Regions from separate parts of the Homo sapiens genome. Here region 2 is linked to region 1. The links are contacts of gene promoters, found by promoter capture Hi-C in blood cells and fetal thymus (Javierre and others, 2016). All regions are on one chromosome and are shown on one strand. The core of a region is centred on a gene start or on the middle of the fragment in contact, and the rest is flanking DNA. Distances in the headings are between cores, read along the strand shown. Region 1 holds the start of HSPA8 (heat shock protein family A (Hsp70) member 8). Region 2 overlaps UBASH3B (ubiquitin associated and SH3 domain containing B).

Region 1 (7,068 bases), core at 332-2,831:
ACTCCGGAATGCACCCCATACTGAAAAACCAACCTCACCTTCCCAAGGTAGGCTTCTGCAATTTCCTTCATCTTTGTCAGAACCATAGAAGACACCTCCTCTGGATAGAAGCTTTTGGTCTCTCCCTTGTATTCTACTTGGACCTTGGGCCTGCCAGCATCATTCACCACCATAAAGGGCCAATGTTTCATATCAGACTGGACAACAGCATCATCAAATCTGCGTCCAATCAGACGTTTGGCATCTGTAAAAGGTGTCAAATGAAAACACTTTCAATTTCATAGCTCTTCTGATAAAACTCAAGTCCATGATTACTCAAATACCTAACAGTTCATAGGTAGGTGAATTCAACTACCATATAGGTAGCAAAGGTTCAAACTTCAACCTCCTACGTTATCCAGATTTCAGCCTGAAAGGTTTCTACAACCTGTTTTATAACAGACTTGATAACAAGTCTCTCAGCTCAGTTTTTCTAAAATCAAAAAGTTCCCTCCTCACGTTTCATAAACTTTTGTGCTTCCTAGCCCTGTTATATTTGTTCTGTCATTTAAAATTAGGAACTCACCAAAAACTGTGTTGGTGGGGTTCATTGCAACTTGATTCTTTGCGGCATCACCGATCAACCGTTCAGTGTCCGTAAAGGCGACATAGCTTGGAGTGGTTCGGTTTCCCTGATCATTGGCAATTATCTCGACTTTTCCGTGCTGGAAAACACCCACACAAGAGTAGGTGGTGCCAAGATCAATACCAACTGCAGGTCCCTTGGACATGGTTGCTGAAAAAAAGAAAAATCTGGTTTAAAAATTCAATTAATCAAAATATTTCCCTCATCCCTTAACAGAACACTTAACCAGGAAAAACGTATGGCCACTGCCAAGAGGTAATAGTGCCCATCACCTCCTGTCTAAGCACGCGCGAGGTCCAGAACTAGTGCTGCAGTCCAGGTTGCCGTGCCAACCGCAGCAGAGCACGCCCTAGATGAAGGACCCATCTACCCAGACGGCGTGGGGCGTTGCTCAACACGTGGTCTTACCCCGAACTGAGCACTGTCTGTTCCCCTCCCTCGCCAGGTGCCAGTGCCCCCGGGAGTCAACGGGCTTTTAACTACTCCGGAATGTACCCCCATACTGGAAGCACGCCAAGAACAGCTCTGAAGAACCACGGTGGGACTGGACTAAGCAGGGAACTGGGTGAAAGAAAACGCTGGCTCCACTTCCCCGCGCGCCAGGCAAACCGATGCAGCAACCCTCCCCCGCCACGCGGCCGCCGGGCGTCTCCCAGCCTCCCCTGGGGCCACTGCGGCCCACTCCCTACATTTCCGTCCTGCCGGCTGCAACCAAATACCGCTGCCATCCCACCGAAAACTGAGGCCCTTTAAGCCGGTAGAAGGAGCCGCACACTCGCCTCGACGAGATTCTCAGAACCCCCAAGCCTCAGCAAGCCCAACAGGCCTGTGTGGAGGCTGCACGCTCCCAGACCCACAACCCAACTCTTGAGCAGAGGTTTTACCTGGGGTGTAGGCCTGGCTCCAATAACGAAGGAAGCCACAAAAAACCCAAGAGCTGCAGGCGAGTTCAATGAGACCGGTTTCCGCCCGCCACCCTGCCTCTTATACCCTATCTTAGAACCTTCCAGAAGGGGCCCGCCCCTGCTGCCTGCCATTACGGCTTCCCCGGCCAATAGACGCCCGGCTGCCCTTACAAGACCCAATCACAAGCCCGGCTCCACTCCTCGGGCCTCGCCCCCTTCCGCACCCACCCCACCGCGCTCCGCCTCACGATAACGCACTCACCGCAGCGTTCTGGAACTTTCAAGCTCGCCCCCGCTCTCCGGACGGCCCCGGGGAAAGGGAGGGTGGGGCGCAGCGAGTCCGCGCGCGGGAGTCCTCAGTTACCCCGGGCGGGGGAGGGGAGCGTCCACCTCTACGCATGCGCCCCCAGCTTCCGCGGGAGGGAGGGGGCGGAAAAAGGAGGAGGAAGAGGGGCGGGCAAACTTGGAACTAACCAATGATAGCGGCGCTAGCCGGGATCTTGGCCGGCACAGAACTGGGGGCGGAATCGCGCGGGGCCTGAAGGGAGGGGTTTGGGCGCGGGAGCCGGGCAGGAGAAGACGGAAGTGGAGCGAGGACAAAATGGCTGCGAAGGTTGTTGCTCCCCTCCCCCACCCACGTCCGAATCCTCCTTTCCATGCCCCACCTTCGTGTTCCAGACGGGCCTCTAAGTGCCCCGGGTTTCGCGAATCTGTATTTCATAGCGTGGCTTTGGACAAGGGCTGACCCCGAGGGGCTGGGGCGAAGGTTCCGGCTTCAGGGTGCCACTAGGGCTGCTCGCTCACGGCCCCCCAGGATTGGGATTGGAGGGAGCCGCCAGGCCGCCGCGGGGTGGGGCGGGTTAGCTCGGCAGGCCTCCCAGCACCTGCATTTCCCTACGGCAACTGTCGGGAGGCAGCCCCCGACGCAGAGGTTTAAGGGGCCCGGCTTTTCAGAACCGCCTCAGGACGCGGTCGTGTCTGGATCCCTCCGCGGAAAAGAAGGCGAAACCGCTTCTCTGAGCCCTGACCGTTAGGCCCCTTCCCACCTCCGTCTAGAACAGATTCGGCTTCTTGGCTCAGTCCTTCCCCAACTAGCCCAAGCCCTACATTTCCCCGTTGTTTATAAAATAAACAGGTTTAAATGGTGGCGAGTGTGTTCTTGGTTAGGTGAACCAGGCATTAGGAATCATAGGTTCCAGTAGCCGTGCGTCCTTGATTTAGACTTTCTGAACGTTTGTATTTTCAGTAACATGAGGTGATATCTTTCCTGGTTTGACTTTCATCAAAAATTAAACGACAGACCATACCGACGCTTTGAAAACGTGACTGAGCTGGTGCACAAAACAATGGTGCCTAGAATTTTGAATTGTGCAATGTTGTGCATGGCCGCGGATATGTGGGGCCTTGTGGTTCCAAGAGCCTGTCTCAGGTACCTTGAACACTCCCTGTATCCTTTCAAGCAGGCGAGGTAGCTGTTATTCCTATTTAGTAGATAAATAGGCACCGATGGGGGAAAAGATTTTTTAAGGCTACACCAAAAGAACTTTTAGTAGCAGGGCTGGAATTAGAAGGTCTCTAGACTGCGAAAAAGGCTGTCAGAAGAGCGAGGACATCTTGTCCTTGTCAAAGCCAGTAAAGGGTAGAGACAGACTCAAACATATGAAGAATTTCCTTTTCATATTTTCCTTTTGGGGAGGAATGTTGGCTTAGAGTTCATGGAGATATATTCTTAGCCTCTCCCACGTCCCAAGAATTTAATTTTATACAATGCTTTCACTACATACAAAATGCTTTCATTTGTCATTTAATCATCAACACAATTCTCTAAGGTGTGTATTATTCATCCCCATATCAGGGGAAAAATGCAGCTCAGAGATAATCATTTGTGGGAAGATAAGCAGCTGGGTAAGCTAGAATCAAATCTAGCTTTTTTTTGGTTCAAGATTTGTTTTATGTTTTTTGTTAGTTACGCTACAGTGTAATTTCCTTCCTGGAAATAAATTGAACTCAACTCCAGAAAGAGTTAAGATATGTACTGTGAGCCACTGTTTTCAGTTTCCTTTGGTATTTGGAACCCCCAGTCCCCCACGCTAACTGCTAGTAATGTTATCTGGAATCTTTCTTTTCACACCCCAGTGCCTAGAGTTTAACAAGCACAAATTTTAAACTACACCCTGTGCTGTATTTTGCGTTTTTGTAATTATTTTAATCATTGAATAGTGGAAAATAGAATTGGGGCGCACATCCACTTGTTTGGGATATCCCATCCAATAGCAGTGATAAAAGAAAGCAGAACAAATAACCTCTGTTTCTGGTTACTCTCAAAACGCGTTCTGGGACTTGGGCTATGTCTTATTAAATGGAATGATTTACCGTTTATATATTTAAAGCTCAGAATATGATAAAGGTCCTGTCTCCACCACTTCAAACGCACAGGGTTTCAAATGACACAGTTAAGATCTAAAATTAAAGTTTGGTTGCATGGGACTGCAGTGGAGCCTAGAGCCTAGGACTTCTGACTGGATAAAAGGATAATGATTTAACATTTTTGTGTGCCTACCACATGCCAGCCTTAACCTCATTTAATTCTCACCGTAAATCTAAGCGGTAGCAACTATTATGATCGTCATTTTGTAAATGGGGAAACTAAGGCACGACTCCGTCTCCCAAAAAAGACAGTCTCCCAATGGAGTCTCCCAGAAAAGATGGAGTCTCGCTCTGTCCCCCAGGCTGGAGTGCAGTGGCAGGAACTTGGCTCACTGCGACCTCCGCCTCCCAGGTTCAAGTGATTCCCCTGCCTCAGCCTCGCGAGTAGCTGAGACTACAGGTGCATGCCACCACGCCCGGCTAATTTTTCTATTTTAGTAGACGGGGTTTCACCATATTGGCCAGGCTGGTCTCAAACTCCTGTCCTCAGGTAATCCGCCTGCCTCGGCCTCCCAAAGTGCTGGGATTACAGGCATGAGCTACCACGCCTGGCCTGTTTTTTTTGTTTTTTTTTTTTATGTGGAGTCTATAACTGTCATCCAGGCTGGAGTGCAGTGCTGTGATCTTGGCTCACTGCAACCTCCGCCTCCTGGGTTCAAGCAATTCTCCTGCCTCAGCCTCCCAAGTAGCTGAGATTAGAGGCCCGCACCACCACCACGCCCCGCTAATTTTTGTTATTTTTAGTAGGGACGGGGTTTCACCATGTTGGTCAGACTGGTCTCAGGCCTCAAGTAATCTTCCCACCTCGGCCTCCCAAAGTGCTGGGATTACAGGAGTGAGCCGCCGTGCTGGCCTCAGTTTATGAAGAAATTATTTAATAGTTTTGTGGTATCAGTTGCTTCTGTTGAAAAGTCTCAACCAGCCTAGGCAAAATAGTGAGACCCCCATCTCTGAAAAAATGAGATGGGAGGATCGCTTGAGCTCAAGAGGTGGAGAATGCAGTGAGCCATGGTTGTGCCCCTGCACTCCAGCCTGAGTGACGGAGCAAAACCCTGTCTCAAAAAACAAAAAAAAATGAAAAAAATTTAAGGTTTAGAATTTAATTGGATAATTTGTGTTAGGATTATGTGGTGTACTGTTACTAAGTATGCATTTTTAAAAAATTAGTATTAAAGAATAGTAAACTTACAGTCCCTTGCTTTAAAAACTCAGATATTAAAAACAATCCTCCTGTGACCCGGTGACATGACTAAAAGATGCAATATATGTATGCCCTGATTGCCCAAATACTGGAGTGTATGTACTGCATTGCATCAGGGAAATTTGAAACCAGAATGATGTAAGCTGTTATTAATATTTTGATTTCTAACTGCAGCCATGTATAAATTATTGCAACTGGAGAACAGCATACATAAACATAGCCCCAATATCTTTTTCCTGCATTATGCTTTACCTTCCTAAACCAGATTATACGCTTTAGAACATTCTCATGCCTATTGTATTTCTGGTAGTAGAGCCCTTGCCATTGATGTTTTATTCAGTGCTTTATGCAGGGCACCATGCTAAGCATTTGACATATATTCTCTTACATGACCCTCACAACTATTTTTGGCAGATCATATTGTCCGCATTTTCAGGTAAAGAAATTGAGGTTCAAATAGGTCAAATAATTTGCTTAAGATCTCTAGCTGACCCTGAATTTTTCAAAATCAGATTTTATTCTACAGCTTATGCTTCTAACTCAGGCTAGGTTGCTTTCTACTTTCAAACTCTTAGTCATCTTGTTTAGCCCCTGCACTATGGAGAGGAGGTGCGGTATAAAATGCGCTCTTGGCCAGGCACTGTAATCCCAGCATTTTGGGAGGCCAAAGCTGGTAGATGGCTTGAGCCCAGGAGTTCAAGGCCAGCCTGGGCAACATAAGGAGACCCCATCTCTACAAAAAATACAAAAATTAGCTGGGCGTGTTGGCATGTGCCTGTAGTCCCAGGTACTCGGGAGGCTGAGGTGGGAAGATGGTTTGAGCCTGGGAGGTTGAGGCTGCAGTGAGCCGTGATTGTGCCACTGAGCTCCAGCCTGGGCGACAGAGTGAGAACCTGTCTCTTAAAGAAAAAAAAGGTGCTCCTTATTATTTTAATTTTTTTTTTTTAATCTGAGATGGAGTCTCACTGTCACCCAGTCTGGAGTGCAATGGTGCAATCTCAGCTCACTGCAGCCTCCCCCTCCTGGGTTCAAGCAGTTCTCCTGCCTCAGCCTCCTGAGTAGATGGGATTACAGGCGCACACCACCATGCCCGGCTAATTTTTTTAGCATTTTTAGTAGAGAGGGGTTTTCGCCATGTTGGTCAGTCTGGTCTCGAACTCCTGACCTCATGATCCACCCGCCTCGGCCTCCCAAAGTGCTGGGACTCAGGCGTGAGCCACTGCGCCCCGCCTATTTTAATTTAAAATTTTTTTCAGAGCAGCTTAATTTTTAATATTTATTTATTTATTTATTTATTTATTTTTTGAGATGGAGTTTCACTTTTGTCGCCCAGGCTGGAGTGCGATGGCGCAATCTCAGCTCACTGCAACCTCCGCCTCCCAGGTTTAAGCAATTCTCCTGCCTCAGCCTCCCAAGTAGCTGGGATTACAGGCATGTGCTACCATGCCCAGCTAATTTTTTCTATTTTTAGTAGGGATGGGGTTTCTCCATGTTGGTCAGGCTGGTCTCGAACTCCTGACCTCAGGTGATCCACCCGCCTCAGCCTCCCAAAGTGCTGGGATGACAGGCGTGAGCCACTGCACCCGGCTAATTTTTAAGATTTTTTTTTGGCTGGGCGCGGTGGCTCACGCCTGTCATCCCAGCACTTTGGGAGGCCAAGGCAGGAGGATCACAAGGTCAAGAGATCGAGACTATCCTGGCCAACATGCTGAAACGCTGTTTCTACTAAAAATACAAAAATTAGCTGGGCATGGTGGCACGCACCTCTAGTCCCAGCTTCTCAGGAGGCTGAGGGAGGAGAATCACTTGAACCCAGGAGGTGGAGGCTACAGTGAGTCAAGATCACACCACTGCATTCCAGCCTGGCAACAGAGCAAGACTCCGTCTCAAAAAAAAAAAAAAAAAAAAAG
Region 2 (7,068 bases), core at 1,153-3,652, 400 kb before region 1:
GGGATCAAAGGTCCTAAGGTCTGGTCTAGCTTCTGAATGATATCTGCACCTTTTAGGTCTTCTATTTAACCTCTTTTCCTTAATATCTTCACCAGCTTCTGTGCGTGGCAAGACCTGTCATGTGTCACGGGCCTTTCCAAAGACAAAATGAGATAACAGACAGAAAAGAACTTGGGAAAGTTAAAGATAGGATCAGGATGCAAGATGTGATTGGGGCATTATTGTGTTGGATTGCAAGAAGGGAGAGGAGGTGAGATGGTGGTTGAGGTGTCTGGCGAGGATTTACGTGTATTATTGGATTGTCCTTTTTTTTCTACTGAGAATATTTGAACAATGCCAAATTAAAGAGCAAGGCAGTGGCAGAAGGAAAGAGCTGGAATGAGCGCTTTTGACTTGGCTTTGGACAGTAAGCTGTGTTAGCTATGCCTCACTGCCCAAAGATAAAAGCAGCTCCAAGTTGGCTGCATGAGGAGTTGAGAAGCGGCATGTGGAGCCCATGAATTAAAGTATCTGGTTTCCCTGGCTTTTTCCAGCTTACCTGTTGGTTGACATTGGATCCTCTGAGAACACTTGGCCAACCCAACATCTCTGAAATGTAGCTGACTCTGGCGTGGGGGCTGCAGCTGCTTTCCCAGCCTTGGATAGACAGAAAGAGGAAAAACTGGAACCCACCTGGAGCTGAAGGGCTCTTATAGGTGGGCAGGGCAAGGAAGTCTCTAATCTACCTGCTGTGACTGTGCACCCACATAACACGCCCTTCTATCTGTGTTATTATACACTGTAAAAATTGCTCTTATGTGTATTAGATACCCCACAGCAGTCTTGTGAGGTAAAGCACACAACATATGCTTTGTTTTAAGATGAGACTGGAGGCTTAGAGGAGTTCAGGACGTGTCTAGAGTCACACAGTTGGTATGCAGGGACTGCATTGCCATAAGAGCCTCAGGCTAAACTGCAAGTCTCCTGAACTTTCCAGGCTACACGAGGTCCTGGTTCCAAAAAAAAAAAAAACAAAAAAAAAAATACCTTGATATGCTTTTTTTCTTTTTTTTTTTTTTTTTGAGACAGAGTTTCGTTCTTGTTGCCCAAGCTGGAGTGCAATGGCGTGATCTCAGCTCACTGCAACCTCTGCCTCCTAGGTGTCAAGTGATTCTCCTGCCTTAGCCTCCCAAGTAGCTAGGACTACAGGTATGTGCCATCATGCCCAGCTAATTTTGTATTTTTAGTAGGGACAGAGTTTTATCATGTTGGTCAGGCTGGTCTCGAACTCCTGACCTCAAGTGATCATCCCGCCTTGGCCTCCCAAAGTGCTGGGATTACAGGTGGGAGCCACCCTGCCCGGCCAGCCGATGTGCTTTTTTTAAAAAAACTTTTTTGAGTTATAACTCATGTACAATCAGCTAACCCTATTTAAAGATTGATACATTTTGACAACTGTACCTGTGTGATTACCTGCTACAAGACACAGTACGTTCACTGCCCCTAAAAGTTTCGTTTGTACCCCTTTGTGGTTAGTCCTCTCTCAACCCCCAACCCTGAGCAGCCACCAGTCGCTTTTTCTTTTCTTTTCTTTTTTTTTTTTTTGAGACAGTTTCACTCTTGTTGCCCAGGCAGGAGTGCAATGCTGCGATCTCAGCTCACTGCATGCAACCTCCGCCTCCCAGGTTCAAGTGATTCTCCTGCCTCAGCCTCCCAAGTAGCTGGGATTACAGGCATGCACCATCACGCCTGGCTAATTTTGTATTTTTAGTTGAGACAGGGTTTCTCCATGTTGGTCAGGCTGGTCTCGAACTCCTGACCTCAGGTGATCCGCCCGCCTCGGCCTCCCAAAGTGCTGGGATTACAGGCATGAGACACCACGCCCAGCCCAGTTGCTTTCTTTCACTGTACATTAGTTTGCATTTCCTAGATTTGCATGTAGGTCATACAGTGCATACCCTTGTACTTGGCTTCTTTCCTTCAGCATATTTTTTAGACTCATCCTGCATGTATCAATAGTTTATCTCTTTTAATTGCTGAGTAGACCTTCAGGTATTTGGATGTGCTAGTAGGGTAATTATAACCCCTTGCACACAGCTTCTATGAAAATTCCCTCTTACGCGCTAATGTCTTTTTTTTTTTTTTTTTTTTTTGAGATGGAGTCTCGCTCTGTTTCCCAGGCTGGAGTGCAGTGGCACAATCCCGGCTCACTGCAACCTCCGCCTCCCGTGTTCAAGCAATTCTCCTGCCTCAGCCTCCTGAGTTACTGGGACTACAGGCACATGCCGCCATGCCCAGCTAATTTTTTGTATTTTAATAGAGACATGATTTCACCATGTTGCCCAGGCTAGTCTCGAATTCCTGAGCTCAGGCAATCCGCCTGCTTTGGTCTCCCAAAGTGCTGGGATTACAGGCATAAGCCACCGCGCCTGGCCTTACGCCAGAATTTCTAATAATACCTTAAGTTTTTAGACCATGTTCGAGCTTACAAAGCAGAGTCACATACATAATCACTATTAAGTCTCAGACATTGATAATTTAATGAGGAAACTGAGGTTTGGAAGATTAAGTACTACAGAGATTGAAGAGTATCCTGCCTCACTGTTCTATCCTGTGGCTTTGATCACCACCTGCTCCCCACCCTCAGCTGCCTCAAAGTCCAGCTCCCTTTCAGGGAGTGGACAGTCATTCGCAGAGCTAAAGGCGTTGCTTTTCAGAGAGGCAGCCAACCTAGGGAATCCTGTGTCTCCCGCCAGCTTTGCTCCAGCTGATGATGATGTGGTGGTACTATCACTGCCTCCCCAATCCCAGCCGGCATAAGCCTGTGTAAGGGTATCTCCTTTCTTGGCCATCCAGAAGCTGAAGAGACCCCATCATTATCTGCCCCATCCATCCTGCCCTGATAGACAGAAGTCTGAACTTGTGGCAGCCTGGCTTTGAATTCCAGCTCTGCCTCTTACCAGCTGAGGGACTGACCTTGGGCAAGTTGCTGAACATGCTAAGCCTCAATTTTCCTGTCTGTACAATGCAGACAATAACAGCACTTGTCTTGAAGGACCTTTGTGAGAGAAGGGTGCCAAACCACGCAAACAGCTGGAGAGCGCCTGGCATTGGGCACACCCTCAGAAATGAGGTCGGTATTAGTGCTACTCAAGTGGTGATGTTACTCCACATGGCTCCCTCTGTGGTTTGGTTCCTTGGTCGCCTTCCACTTTTATGGTTCTCTGTTCCTCACTGAGCTTTGGGTATAAGGCTGTAAGATAGGGCAGAGGCCAGTGGATGCTTTCTCCCTGATAACTGCATTCTGCTCTCTGTGCTTCTCTCTCTAGAGTGCCCAGAGGGGTGCGGGGCCTGAGAAAAAGCAGACCCAGGGCAGAGAGAGCACCACCCAAGCTGCTGACTATAATAAATGGCAGGGGCTGGGGACTGGAAGGGGTACCATATGGTTGTCTTCTGATTACTTTCAAATGGAATCAGACTCAAGCCTAAGAGAGAGAGTGGGGAGAAAAAACCACACTCAAGAATGGATCCTCTCTGCAGGGTGACAGACTCAGCCAAGCAGAATGCAGAGCCATTGCCAGAAGAATGAGATGACTATGATCCTCATTGAACTGAACACTTTTGTCATTTTCATGGATGGATTCTCCCAGGGGCCACTTTCTATTTGCCCAAAGGCTTATGGAGAATCTGTGGTTTTTCTCTTTTCCCTGGAGGATGGGTGGGTAGATGTGGCAGTGATCGCAGTCCTCTGGACCCTCTGCCCGGGGCCCTCGGTATGTGATAGGTGATCCCTTTTCTTGTTTCATCTTGCTCACATCCCTGTTTTCCTGGTGACTTTGCAGTCATGCTCTTTGCCACTTACTATCTATGACGGTGAGGCCCATGGTGAAGTGTCCTAGATGAACATCCAGAAACTGTCTGAGCTCTTACTGTGCATGCAGCACCCTGCTAAATTCTGTGCAGTTCTCCGGAGGAAAAGGTAAATGTCAGGTTTTTCCCATCTGGCACTCTGAAGTCAACTGCTCTTTTGAGCTGGCTGCACGTTCTCCACAGTGACCCTCGGAGGGCAGGCCTGCCTTTTTTTTGAGACGGAGTCTCGCTCTGTCGCCCAGGCTGGAGTGCGGTGGCGCAATCTCAGCTCACTGCAAGCTCCGCCCCCCGGGTTCACTTCATTCTCCTGCCTCAGCCTCCCAAGTAGCTGGGACTACAGGCGCCCGCCAATACCAGCTAATTTTTTTGTATTTTTAGTAGAGACGGGGTTTCACCGTGTTAGCCAGGATGGTCTCCATCTCCTGACCTAGGCCTGCCTTTTTGAGGCCTGCTGGGATTACAGGTGTGAGCCACTGCGCCCGGCTCGTGTGTGTTTCACTCTGTCTCCCAGGCTACAGTGCAATAACACGATCCTAGCTCATTGCAGCCTCGAACACTTGGGCTCCAGTAATCCTCCTGCCTCAGCCTTCTGAACAGTGAGAACTACAGGTGTGCCCCACCACACCTGGATAATTTTAAAATTTATTTTATTTTTATTTTTGTAGAGATGGGGGTCTCACTACATTGCCCAGGCTTGTCTCAAACTCCTGGGCTCAAGTGATCCGTTCGCCTCAGCCTCCCACAAGTGCTGGGATTACAGGCATGAGCCCCTGCGCCCAGCCTGGACCAGTGTTTTTGGACAGCACGAGGATGCTCTCACTGCTTCATGGGTGTGCTTCTCTGTTCCAGAGCATTTGGCTTTTCTGTTCCTGTTTTTGTTTTGTTTTTCACAGTGCTTTATGGTCAAATTCTTCTCCTCTCCCTTTAAAGAAAACTCTTCAGGACTTGATATTTTAGAGAGTAAATAAACGGAAAGGAAGAAAGATATGAGGCAATTACAGTGGTGGGGAGCCGTTTACTAGTATGCAATAGTATAATTCTCAAATTGGTACAAAACAAAAACAAACAATTTGTTTTCTTGCAAAATACAACCAAAGTGCTGGTTAAATAAGAGGAAGGTAGTGCCTTGAGCCCAGCACCTGAGGCAAATAGATTGCTCAGGGGCACCTTTTAAATTAAAGGGACATCTTCCCTTCTGTGGAGTCACCAGCTGTTTGGGTGACACTTCCCGTTGTGCTCCCGGCCTCTGTGGAAGCATAAACATTCTTGTACATAAAGCAACTGTGGCAGTGAACTCCACCAGGACCAAGGCTGTTCTCGTGCAGAGTGGGAAGCTGAAAGAACCACCGCTGTAGCCTCTCATGGCAGTCTGGAAAATGCCAGGGGGAAGCCGACTGCACAGATGGCCAGAGGCAGCTGCATGCTCCCGATTTCTTTCAGGTTTTGTTGGGTGAACCTTCTTGGTGATTCAGGTAGCAGGATTGTTTAGAATCCTGCTTCCACGTTGATGGTGCGCCTTTCAAAAACATTTACAGAGAGCGTTCGCTCCCTAAGTGTTTATTCCTTTACCTTAGGAAGAAATCTGCCTCATGGCTGCTTTTGTGTACAGTCTATTTAGACACAGACATGTGGAACGATGCAGGGTCGCTGGAGTTCTCAACCATGGCATCTGCAGTTTCGTTTTTGTTTTTTTTTTCTTTTGTTTTTTGTTTTGTTTTTCGTTTTGAGACGGAGTCTCGCCCTGTCACCCAGGCTGGAGTGCAATGGCACGATCTCGGCTCACTGCAACCTCTGCCTCCCGGGTTCAAACAATTCTCCTGCCTCAGCCTCCTGAGTAGCTGGGATTACAGGCGCGCGCCTCCATGCTCAGCTGATTTTTGTATTTTTAGTAGAGACGGGGTTTCACCATGTTTGCCAGGCTGGTCTCGATCTCCTGACCTTGTGATCCACCCGCCTCGGCCTCCCAAAGTGCTGGGATTACAGGCATGAGCCACCGCGCCCAGCTGCAGTTTCATTTTGAATCAACTTTTCCTTGAATTGCCTGATTGCTCATTTTTTTCCCCTCTTTTTTCCTAATCAGATTTTACCCATCCTGGAGAACTAGTTCCACTGTAATGCATCTGGCTCCTCTTCCCTTCTTTTCACTTTCTCTTCCCCTCCTCTCTCACTCTCCTCATCTCTTCTGCCACAAGTCTTATTAAGCTTCACACCCTGTGAAGCAAGCCAGACTAAGGGGATTACCCCAAATCACCTATGAAGATGCACAGTGATCTGCCCAGGGTCCTCAGCCACTTTCTCCATGACAAATCCCCTGATAATGGCATTCTTTTTTTTTTTTTTTTTTTTTTTTGAGAAAGAGTCTCACTATGTCACCCAGGCTGGAGTGCAATGTTGTGATCTCAGCTCACTGCAACCTTTGCCTCCTGGGTTCAAGCGATTCTCCTGCCTCAGCTTCCTAAGTAGCTGGGATTACAGGCACGCACCACCACCACACCTGGCTAATTTTTGTATTTGTAGTAGAGACGGGGTTTTGCCATGTTGGCCAGGCTGGTCTCAAACTCCTGACCTCAGGTGATCACCCGCCTCAGCCTCCCAAAGTGTTGGGATTACAGATGTGAGCCGCCGCGCCCAGTCCATTCTTTCTCTCTCTCTGTATATGTATGTATATACTGTACAGACACTTCACACATTTATGTGCAACTATAATATCCTATTATAACAGGAGTTGAGAGTATAAAGATAATTAGCTATAATCTCCACCCTCAGGAAACTGGCAATCTAGGGTGGAAGATACACGATTATGATAAAGCGTGGTAAATGCGAGGCAAGAGACAGAAGATGGAAGACACATCAGTGTGGGAGGGTGAGGGTCATAAACCAGACAGGGAGCACACGATTACATCTGAAGCACCAATAAGACAGGAGCAATACTCTTCAGTTTGAGAGGAGAGGAAAAATTCTGGGAAGGCCAGTAGACAGTTCAAATAATTTAATATTATGCCTCAGGTGTAAGATCCTGCTTGGAAGAAACCTCCAGAGGTAGACGCTCAGAAATCTGTAGCTGGAATTGCTAGTAGGGCTCATCTAGTCTAGTACCCTTTTTCTTTACACTTAAGTAAAATGAGACCAGAAAATGAAGTGATATTTTCAAGATCCCACACGGCTAGTCTGTGATAGAAACCAGAGCTTAGGCCTGCTGATCTCAGTTGAGACCATGGT

Evidence for each region. The method cuts DNA at HindIII sites, captures the fragments that hold promoters and counts their contacts. A CHiCAGO score of 5 or more calls a contact.
Region 2: a fragment that was not itself captured here is called in contact with the fragment with the promoter of HSPA8 in region 1 in 1 of 17 cell types (neutrophils); the score reaches 5.4 in neutrophils.

Annotation. Positions count from the first base shown.
Region 1 is chr11:123,060,555-123,067,622 of GRCh38, forward strand. It overlaps HSPA8 (heat shock protein family A (Hsp70) member 8), which reads right to left and starts at 1,582. Exons shown (of 9, transcript NM_006597.6): 1 at 1,510-1,582; 2 at 566-775; 3 at 39-244. The coding sequence starts at 770. LOC124902775 (a long non-coding RNA gene) reads left to right here and starts at 2,108. Exons shown (of 2, transcript XR_007062927.1): 1 at 2,108-2,977. RefSeq lists enhancers at 1,331-1,500, 2,061-2,330 and a silencer at 1,651-2,040. The HindIII fragment of the contact is 24,952 bases long and covers 110-7,068 here.
Region 2 is chr11:122,660,863-122,667,930 of GRCh38, forward strand. The region is part of intron 1 of UBASH3B (ubiquitin associated and SH3 domain containing B); the gene reads left to right. Among named protein-coding and RNA genes, the nearest start is that of UBASH3B, 8.7 kb to the left of the region's middle. The HindIII fragment of the contact is 7,294 bases long and covers 1-6,049 here.